Regions from separate parts of the Homo sapiens genome. Here regions 2 and 3 are each linked to region 1. The links are contacts of gene promoters, found by promoter capture Hi-C in blood cells and fetal thymus (Javierre and others, 2016). All regions are on one chromosome and are shown on one strand. Each heading gives the region's core, a stretch centred on a gene start or on the middle of the fragment in contact. The rest is flanking DNA. Distances are from core to core; before and after follow the strand shown. Region 1 holds the start of ZSCAN30 (zinc finger and SCAN domain containing 30). Region 2 overlaps RPRD1A (regulation of nuclear pre-mRNA domain containing 1A). Region 3 has its middle 14 kb from the start of MIR3929.

Region 1 (3,225 bases), core at 404-2,903:
ACCATCTTAGACCCTGGCCCCAGTAGAGTCAGCCTTGAGATGACTGCAAAATGACCCCAGAAAAGACCAAGAGAAAAAAAAATGCCCAGGTGAACCCAGCTCAAGTTGATGACCTACAGAATCATAAGAAATAATGTGGTTTAAGAAGTCTGATGTTTTAGGTCACTAAATTTTGGGGTTCTTTATTCTGGAGTAATACATAGATACAAATCTCAAAATAACTTCAAGGTATGAAGTACTATGCACTTGAAAAGTGAGGAAACAGAATCGTAAAATATATGAGTAACTTACTGGAGCCAGTTAAGTGACAAAACTACTGTTTGAATCTAGGTTGTCAGACTCCAGAACTTTTAACTATGCCCCTACAGTAGATAAGAAAAATGACCAAAACTGACAGATTAGCAATGAGGTCATTATACAGGGAAAAATGAATGACTTTGGGGTCTTAAAAAAGTGGAGAGAGCTGCATGAGAATTTGATCGCCAGATTTTGAAATAAAGTCATGTGACTATGCTTGGTACACTAAAGAGGTAATACTGCCTAACAGAGTTAAGGGGGATCATTTGAAGACACTAGCATAGAGTGACACCCCCTCATCCTCCCCACCCCGCCAAAGCCACTAAGAAAGATATAATACCCTGCCTCTCACCTGACAGAAGGTGGTGTTCCTGAGATTCATAATTGAACTGGATCTCCATGGGCTGCAACTGGACACCTCAGTGTGCAAGTGGAGAATTACCATTTCCTCTGTAAGCTTTTCTTGTCCACATAAAGGTCTGGGACCTGGAGGCAACTGGGCACCACTGGGCTTGGAAGGGAATCATTGTGCTGACTACAGATGTAATCTCTGAGACTAGACCACCAGAAAAATCCTCAAGATATAAAAGAAGGAGAAAACAAAAAATCTCATTTGACTTCCAGTTGCTTTTCTCTCAGAATGTATTAGGCTTCCTCCCCATCATCCAAGAGCCAGGGATTAACCCACTTAAGACACACATTCCCCATTCCAAGTCTAGAGATGTTCAAACAAAATTAGGGGTTAATGCTACCAAAAAAAGGTATAACTGGAAAGATAACGCAGAGAGGGGAATTTTACAGTGAATTCTAGTGGTTAACACTATGTTATTCGCTGCCCTTCCTATCCAAAAATGACACTACTGATCATTTTTCTTCCTTTTGCTTTTACAACATTCACAAATTCAGGTGGCTCTTTCCCAGTACGGTAGGCTGATTCGTATGGATGCACCACGGTTGGTGACTCCCCCCACCCCACAGAGTTTCTGGCGTTCATTCGGTTGAACCCAAGGCCAGCAAGGGCTGACTGGGAACAAACCGAACACTAGGCCGTGAACCAATCGTCTCTCCGTGCCCGGGAGCGACCCCGGGGGCCTTCACTCTCCAAGGACTCGAGAAACCATGCACAGTTTCCTGCTCGTTAGGCAAGATCACCCGGAACTCCTCTGCTATCCGCGAGCCGACATCACCCTTACCTCGACTTGGTCACCGGACCGCTGTGAAGCCTCACACCCGGCGAACCTGCCATCGCCCTGTCCGCTCTAGGAATCTGGGAGGAGTGCTCAGCTCTATGGCGCTTCACCGCGCAGGCGCAGGGCGGGGGTGGGGCACCGGGTGACGGAGGGCTGCCGAGAATTAACCCCCGAACCGCCGCGAGCTGTCCCTAGCAGTGCCTTAGCCAGGGACCTGCTTGGCCAGCGACAGATCCTTTGCTGCTCTGTCTGCCGGTTCTTGAGGTGAATGTCGGAATCCATTATCTTTCGGGAAAGCTCTCTGGGGCAGGGTAGGTTTTCTTACTACATACAAGTTCTTAATTAGTTATCGTTTTTTAAATAACCACCCCTCCCCCTATCGCTTATCTGATTCGTAGGTATGCTTTAATTCTAACTTTCTTCCTGTCCTCTCTGGTTTTTCACACCCCCAGAAGAGTAGCGCGCATCAGAATCACCTGGAGGCCTTGTTAAAATACTGACTTCTGCCCCACAACTCCGGAGTTGCTGATTTAGTAGTGGGGGAGGGGGCGGTGGCAGCCCAGGTTCTCAGGTGATCCTGAAGCTGTTGGTCCTGGGACCACATTTTGAGAACCACTGCCCAAGAAATAAGTGATGCTCAGTAATTAATCCCTGAATTAACGGAAAGTTGGATTTTTATCTACTTTGCAATCTAGAAAGGGTACGAGGTCTATTTAAGGTTTGCTTGCTAGAACAATTCTCACTGATCAGGGTGAGAAGGACCCGAAATGGAGGGTGCGGGGTAATCAGGGTAGGAAAGGATATTGCTGTGTTCATGGAAATATCTTGGGAAATGAGGAGTTGGGACCTCATTTCTGTTGAGACCAATGAGACGTGTGACTTGGTTTAAGCTGTCCGGTGGGGAAAGGAAGAGGTTTGAGAAAATGGTGGGTGGCTAAGTGGTAGTTGAGGTGGAGGAAGAGGGCTTCCTGTCCCAGCCCAAGTCCCTGTTGGGATATATGAAATTTAGGGATGTATGACTAAGCCCTTAATATAACCGTAAGAGGAAAGAGATGTGGGAACTTGAGTCCAACCCTCCCAAGTAGGGAGTGCAGATAGTTTTAAAAAAACAGCTTTCTTTTTGGCCAGGCGCAGCTTAGGCCTGTAATCCTAAAACTTTGGGAGGTTGAGGCAGGTGGATCACCTGAGATCAGGAGTTGGAGACCAGCCTGGCCAACAAGGTGAAACCCTGTCTCTACTACAAATACAAAAATTAGCTGGGCATGGTGGTGTGCGCCTTTAATCCCAGCTACTTGGGAGGCCGAGTCAGGAGAATCGCGTGAACCCATGAACCCAGGAGGCGGAGGTTGCAGTGAGCCGAGATTGCGCCACTGCACTCCAGCCTGGGTGACAAAGCGAGACTTTGTCTCAAAACAAAACAAAACAAAACAAAACAAAACAGCTTTATTGAGGTATAACTGACATAAACAGCAAATATTTAAAGGATATAATTTGATAAGGCTTGTTAAATGAATACAGCTGTGGAACTATCACTGCAATCAAAATAATATGTTTATTACATCTAAACCCCAAAAGTTTCCTCCTGCCCGTTGGTAAGCCTCTCTCCCAATGCCCCCTCCACTGGTCAGCTGTTACTAGAGATTAGTTTGCATTTTCTAGATATTTATTTAAATGGAATCATACAGAATGTCCTTGTTTTTGTCAGAGTTGTTTCACTAAGCTTTTATTTTGAGATTTA
Region 2 (3,225 bases), core at 538-3,037, 740 kb before region 1:
AAATTTAATACAGGATAGAGTCACCGAGATGCATTTTTACATAGACATTAGTTCTGGCGATTTTAGCAGCAGTGACTGGTTAGTTTGGTAGTAAAATGAGAGACTAGGGTTGAAATGATACATAAAGGTTAGTAGGGTTATTTTAGTTCTCAAAATGCTTAATTTAGGTATTGAGAAAGTTTGTCCAAGTAAAGATGTTTTAAGTAGATTTTTAACTTTTTCTTATTTTTCAGCCAAACCAAACAGGAAGCTTACTTTTCTCTACCTAGCCAATGATGTCATACAGAACAGCAAGAGGAAGGGGCCAGAGTTTACAAAAGATTTTGCACCAGTTATAGTGGAGGCTTTTAAGCATGTTTCAAGGTATGATCATAGTTTTGGGTATTAGGTAATCTGTTTTAAATGTACCATATGTCCTTTTGCTAAAATTTGCCTTAAACTATTAAAATAAAAAGTAGGGAATATAGTTTTTTGATGCTTTTATTTGAAAAGACTTCCCTCTACATGGCATTTATAAATGTATTAAATGCCTTCTCTGAAGGAAAAATATTTTTTGAACTGTTGCTAAGGTGGGCCTTTGGAGTACTTGAATTACAGCTTTCCTTTAAGAGACCAGAACCAACTGCTATATTGGAATGAACTTCATTAAAAATGAATGAAGGTATTGAAGTAAAAATTTGTGTGTTTATAAAGCTATCAGTCTTGTAACAAATATTTCCATATACACTTAGTACTGTTTCTATTCTTTTTTTTTTTTTTTTTTTTTTTTTTGAGACAGAGTCTCACTCTCACCCAGGCTGGAGTACAGTGGTGCGATCTTGGCTCACTGCAACCTCTGCCGCTTGGGTTCAAGCGATTCTCCTACTTCAGCCTCGCAAGTAGCTGGAATTACAGGTGCCTGCCACCATGCCTGGCTAATTTTTGTGTTTTTAGTAGAGACAAGGTTTCACCATCTTGGCCAGGCTGGTCTTGAACTCCTGACCTCGTGATCCACCTGCCTCGGCCTCCCAAAGTGCTGGGATTACAAACGTGAGCCACCATGTCTGGCCTGTTTCCATTCTTTACTTGCCCTCTGGGTAATTTTGTACATCGCATGTATTTGGTTATTCTCCACACCGTAATGACTTACAGTTTTATGCTCCAGTCCAGATTTTTTTTTGTTCCAAACCTGTGTGCCCAATTGCCTTTTGACATTTTTACTTGTATGCGTCTCAAACATTTCAGACTCACTGTGTCTGATACAGAACTCATTATGTCCTTGCTTCCCACCGTACTTGTCCCTCCTGTAGGTTTTATACTCTGTGAATGGCAACTCGATCTATCCAGGTGCCTATGCAAGAAATTATGTTACCTTTAAACTCTTCTTTCTCCTTCAGTCCCCATATCTCACATAGTACACATTGACTCGGTTCTTTGGATTTCTTTCCCTTTTAGTTACCATAATGTATTTTCAGTATAATTTTAATGCCCTTTAGTATTGTTTAATTTCTTTAGAAAACTCGACAGAGTTGCAGAGCTGGTCATAATACTTCCTTGCCTTTGAGTGGTTCCCATTTGTTTTAGAGATGAAGTCTAAAGTCCTGAGCAAGACTTAAGGTGTTCCTTCGTGGCACTGCCTATCTCCCCAGACCTCTGTCTCGCATTTATTCCACACAGTCTATAGTCTACAGTTTAAGCTAAATTAACCTTTTTTAGTTCTTTCCGCCTTAAGTCTTCTATATATGTTGCCCCTCCCTAGAATTCAGTAAAATATTTATTGGCTGCATAAATATTTATTATATGCAAAACCCTGAGTAGTAGTGACCAAGACAGTTTTGTTCTACTGGAGCCTACATTTCATTGGATGACAAAGTTAATAAGTAGATAGACAAGTGAATGCATAATGTCAGATGACAAATGCTAGCAAGAAATACAAAGCAGGGAAGGAACTAGATAGTATGAGGGCGCTCAGTTATGTGATGAGATAAAGAACAACTATTTGGGGAAGGTGGCATTTGAACAAAGACTAAAGGAAGGGGTGAAATGAGCCATTTGACTAGGCAGAAAGGATTCTAGGTAGAGAGAATATGTGGCCGAAAAAATGAGATAGCTTATATGCTGGACATGTTTGAGGACCTTAGCAAGGAGATTTGTATGGTACTAGGTATTAGGGAGTGTGTACTGAGGGACTGCCAGAAAGCAGAGCATGTGGGCCTTATGGCCCAGAGTAAGGATTTTGGTTTTATTCTTGATGTGATTGGTAGCTCTTGGAGGATCAAGAGCTGTATAATCTGATTTACATTATTAGGATGCTTTGTACAGAATAGAGTAAAAGAGTAGAGGCTGGGAGAGCGTGAGAAGACTTTACAAAATTCTAAGCAAGAGATAGTAGTGTTTCTGTCTACAGTGATAGCAATGAAGGAGGTAGGAAACAGTTGGGAGTAGTCTGTTTTTCATTTCCCCATATGTCTAGTCTTAAGATCTCAAATTAAATATCATTTCCTTAAATACTCTTCCGGATATCTCTTAAACAGGGCCAGGTCTGTCTTAAGCACTTTGTTCTCTTTTGTGATACTTATAAATAACAACTGCCATAAGCTGCATTTGCATCTCCATGTCAAAGATAGTAACTGGATCAATAAGTATTTGTTGAATAAATTTAAAAAAATAACCTATGAGAAATCTTCCTTAGCCCCATGTCCAGGCCCCATTAGGATAGGAAATCCCTAGCAGCCAGTACTAAAACTTTTACAGTTTAAACTTTTTTTGGTTGTGTAATAATATGTTTATAAAATGTTTACTAGAAGCAAGCAGTGTGTCTAGATCACTTCACTTTTGAGCTGCTGGCCACATAGTGATGCTAAGTAGACATTTGGACAGTTTTTTCCAGGGAATGAATGTCTGATTATATTTAAAGTTACCGTTAACCTTTTCAATAACACTATGCATTGTTACTGTTAACATTTTTCTTTTTTTCTTTTTTTTTTTTTTTAGTGAAACTGATGAAAGTTGTAAGAAGCACCTTGGAAGAGTGTTATCTATTTGGGAAGAAAGGTCTGTTTATGAAAATGATGTATTAGAACAACTTAAACAAGCTCTGTGTAAGTGTAGAATCCTGATCTCTTACCTTGATCTCTTCATTAAAATGTATTCTTTCATTAATACTTAAATGTTCTTTCATTTCAGATGGTGATAAGAAGCCTAGGAAGCGAACTTATGAACAGATAAAGGTGGATGAAAATGAAA
Region 3 (3,225 bases), core at 476-2,975, 660 kb before region 1:
GGTGTTTTAAGGTTACCACGGTAGAAATAGAAACGTGTGCAGCACATAGTCAACAAGTTTTGGCAAATGACCAAATAAGATACAAACATTTAATTGGATTAGGAGATCAGTTGCAAAGTGTTGTGTTTCTATGCCATGATGAACATTCAGAGTGGAATCTCTAGAAAAATGCTTTGTGTAAATGATTAGACTGTAGGGCTAAGGTGTTGCAAAACAGTACAGTAAGTTATTTACTCTTTTTTTTTTTTGAGACGGAGCCTCACTCTGTTGCCCAGGCTGGAGGGTAGTGGCTTGATCTCGGCTCACTGCAACCTCCGCCTCCCGGGTTCAAGCAGTAAATTATTTACTTTTAGTCTCAATAATACTGTGTGTATCAGTAATAATCTAATTACATTTATTTCAAGAAGGTGTCCATTTGTTTTAGACAGGTAATTACTAGTTTAAAATAGATGGGAATATAAAACATTCCGATAATTTGAAATATAGGCTAAAGTCAAGTAAAACATTTGCAAAACCATACATGAAAATGGTAAAATAAGAGCAGACCAAGTTCAGCTAGTTTTCAAAAAAATATAGAATGCCACTCTTTCCCCTGTTCTTGTACTTGAGGGTTGAGGAGCTGTTTGTTGTTGCAGGCTCACACCTGTGTGTCCGAGTCAGGCCTGCAAAACCTGTGTGTCCCACTTCTCAATTTACCCAGTTCTGGGGTCCTTCTCTGCACACCTGTGAAAAGACATCTTATTCTTGTGGTTTAAAACTTGCCGGCCGGGCGCGGTGGCTTATGCCTGTAATCCCAGCGCTTTGGGAGCCCGAGGCGGGTGGATCACGAGGTCAAGAGATTGAGACCATCCTGGCCAACATGGTGAAACCCCGTCTCTACTAAAAATACAAAAATTAACTGGGCGTGGTGGCACATACCTGTAATCCCATCTACTTGGGAGGCTGAGGTAGGAGAATCACTTGAACCCGGGAGGCAGAGGTTGCAGTGAGTCGAGATCGTGCAGTTGCACTCCAGCCTGGGTGACAAGAGCCAAACTCCGTCTCAAAAAAAACCCAACCAACCAGCCAAACAAACAAAAACTTGCCTATACTGCTTGGTGTTTTAAAAAATTTGGAAGGGGGAGGAAAAGACAGGTTATTCTTCCATGAATCAGACACAGCAACTGAACCTCAATTGTTGGGGAGGGATTGATTGCTGAATGAAAAAACTAGGTGGGAGGCAGGAGGGGGTGGATATGATGACCTCATTTGAACTTTGCATGCTATTTCTTCTTAAACGGTGAGGAGTTTAGAAAAAGTACTCAAGCTTAGTTTTGGCGGAAAGGCATTAATAGTATTTTCTCAAGCAGTGTTTGTACAGAATTATTAAGGAGCCCCCTAACATTTTCTCATAAGCCCCCAGGAACGGATTCCTTGTACCTCAGAGGCAAGGTACTTGCCAATAAGCCTTTAGCTTGAGGCTTGCTGTAATATATTTTATAAGACTGTAATGGAACTTAGCAATTTAATCAGAGTATGTGCTTCTCGTTATATTCTTAAAAAATACAACGCATCAGCAAATGTTGCATTATGGGCTATGAAATTCCTTCTGTTAGTTGTTCACATTTTAGCCTGTGCCCACTGTGTTTTGTATGATGGACAAACCAAATAATCATTATGTAAGTAAGGTAGAGCTTTATATTTTTTCCAATGTGTAAACACTCTGTAAATAGGCAGTCCTTGGTGGGTGTGGCAGCTCCCCTAGCTCATCAGGAACCTGGACTCCTCTCTTTCTTCTCTGCTATCCTCAGTGTGTAGTTCTCATCTTTCAGGCTGCCTGGTGGTTGCAAGATGACTGCTGAAGTTCTAGTCATGACACTCATGTTCTAGGCAGGAAGTAGGAAGAAAGGGAGAAGGTAGCTGAATACAATTTAACAACTTCCATTTAAATTTTGTGGTAGAATGTCTGCAAAGATGGCTGCCAATAATTTTTGTAGGCTTAAGTCATTTTTTCCTGTCAAGAGGTATAGTCTGTTTCTCTTCTCCTTTAGTCAGGGCTGGCCCTATGACTTGCTTTGACCAATAGAATGTATTGGAAGGCCTTGCTAGGCTTTGCTGCTTCTGTTTACCCTCTTGGGATCCAGCTGCCATGTAAAGAAGCTTAGACTAGAATATATATATATATATATCTGGAATACAATGGTGTGAACACAGCTTACTGCAGCCTCAACCTCCCAGGCTCAGGTGATCCTCCCACCTCAGCTTCGATAGTAGCTGGGACTACAGGTGCACTTTACCATACTCAGCTAATTTTTTGTAGAGACAGGGTTTCGCCATTTTGCCCAGGTTGGTCTTGAACTCCTTGGCTCAAGTGATCCACCCACCTCGGCCTCCCAAAGTGCTGGGATTACAGGTGTGAGCCACCACAGCTGGCCCAGAGTAAACTATTGAATAATGAACAACTATGTGAAGAGAGGCCTAGCCAGTCCCCAGCTATTCCAAGTACCCCAGTTGAGGCATAAGTCACGTGTATGAAGCCATCTTGAGTGTACCAGTCCCAGTCAAACTCCACTTGATACCATGTGGGATGCAAGAACCACCCAGTTGAGCCCTGTCAACTTATAGAAATGATCAGAAATAGTAAATCATTGCTGAATTGTGCCGAAACACAATTAATTGGCTCTCCGCCTCCAAATACCAGATGGTCAAGAAGTGAAGTTCATTAATTGGGCTCTTTGCCATACTAGACATGTTATGAGTTTTTTACTACAGAGGAAGGGGATGGCTGTCTGGGATGGGGAGGAGTGATAACAGTTGGCCACAGTCACTAATCACAAGATGGCATCTTGGGACAGAAAAGGCATCTCTGGGACCCCAGAAGCAGGGTCCTGTGGGATTGTTACTCTCATGCTTTGGCATTAATGGGACTGGGCCACCCACAGAGGCTGTGCTTTTGTGTCCTGCCTCTGCCCTTCCTCTGCTCTGAAGCTTGCTGCCTCACAGTTTCTGTGCCTGGGTGACCTCAGGCCCCACTCTGTGCACACTGTGAGCTCCCAGCTCCTGGCTGCTGCCAGGTAGCCTAACTCCTGTTCTCAGAGAGGAAGTCGAATTGTATCGCTCCAATGTCCAGTGAGGTCACGCAAAGGTCATCTCTGGTTTCTGGATTGGCTGCACAGCCCTTATCCAGTCAGTTCTGGTAGGAGAGGGACATGGCTTCATGAGGGTTTTGCCAATAACTAGGGTTGT

What was found. Contacts are between HindIII fragments. The CHiCAGO score rates a contact against its expected background, and 5 or more counts as called.
Region 2: a fragment that was not itself captured here is called in contact with the fragment with the promoter of ZSCAN30 in region 1 in 1 of 17 cell types (total CD4 T cells); the score reaches 5.8 in total CD4 T cells.
Region 3: a contact is called between a fragment that was not itself captured here and the fragment with the promoter of ZSCAN30 in region 1, in 1 of 17 cell types (naive CD4 T cells). The highest score is 5.4, in naive CD4 T cells.

The regions. Positions count from the first base shown.
Region 1 is chr18:35,288,657-35,291,881 of GRCh38, reverse strand. ZSCAN30 (zinc finger and SCAN domain containing 30) reads left to right here and starts at 1,653. Exons shown (of 4, transcript NM_001112734.4): 1 at 1,653-1,798. It also overlaps the pseudogene ZNF271P. RefSeq lists an enhancer at 1,377-1,536. The HindIII fragment of the contact is 2,453 bases long and covers 757-3,209 here.
Region 2 is chr18:36,030,846-36,034,070 of GRCh38, reverse strand. It overlaps RPRD1A (regulation of nuclear pre-mRNA domain containing 1A), which reads left to right. Exons shown (of 7, transcript NM_018170.5): 2 at 234-363; 3 at 2,974-3,080; 4 at 3,166-3,225. Among named protein-coding and RNA genes, the nearest start is that of RPRD1A, 35 kb to the left of the region's middle. The HindIII fragment of the contact is 3,070 bases long and covers 253-3,225 here.
Region 3 is chr18:35,946,261-35,949,485 of GRCh38, reverse strand. No RefSeq gene overlaps it. Among named protein-coding and RNA genes, the nearest start is that of MIR3929, 14 kb to the right of the region's middle. The HindIII fragment of the contact is 833 bases long and covers 1,309-2,141 here.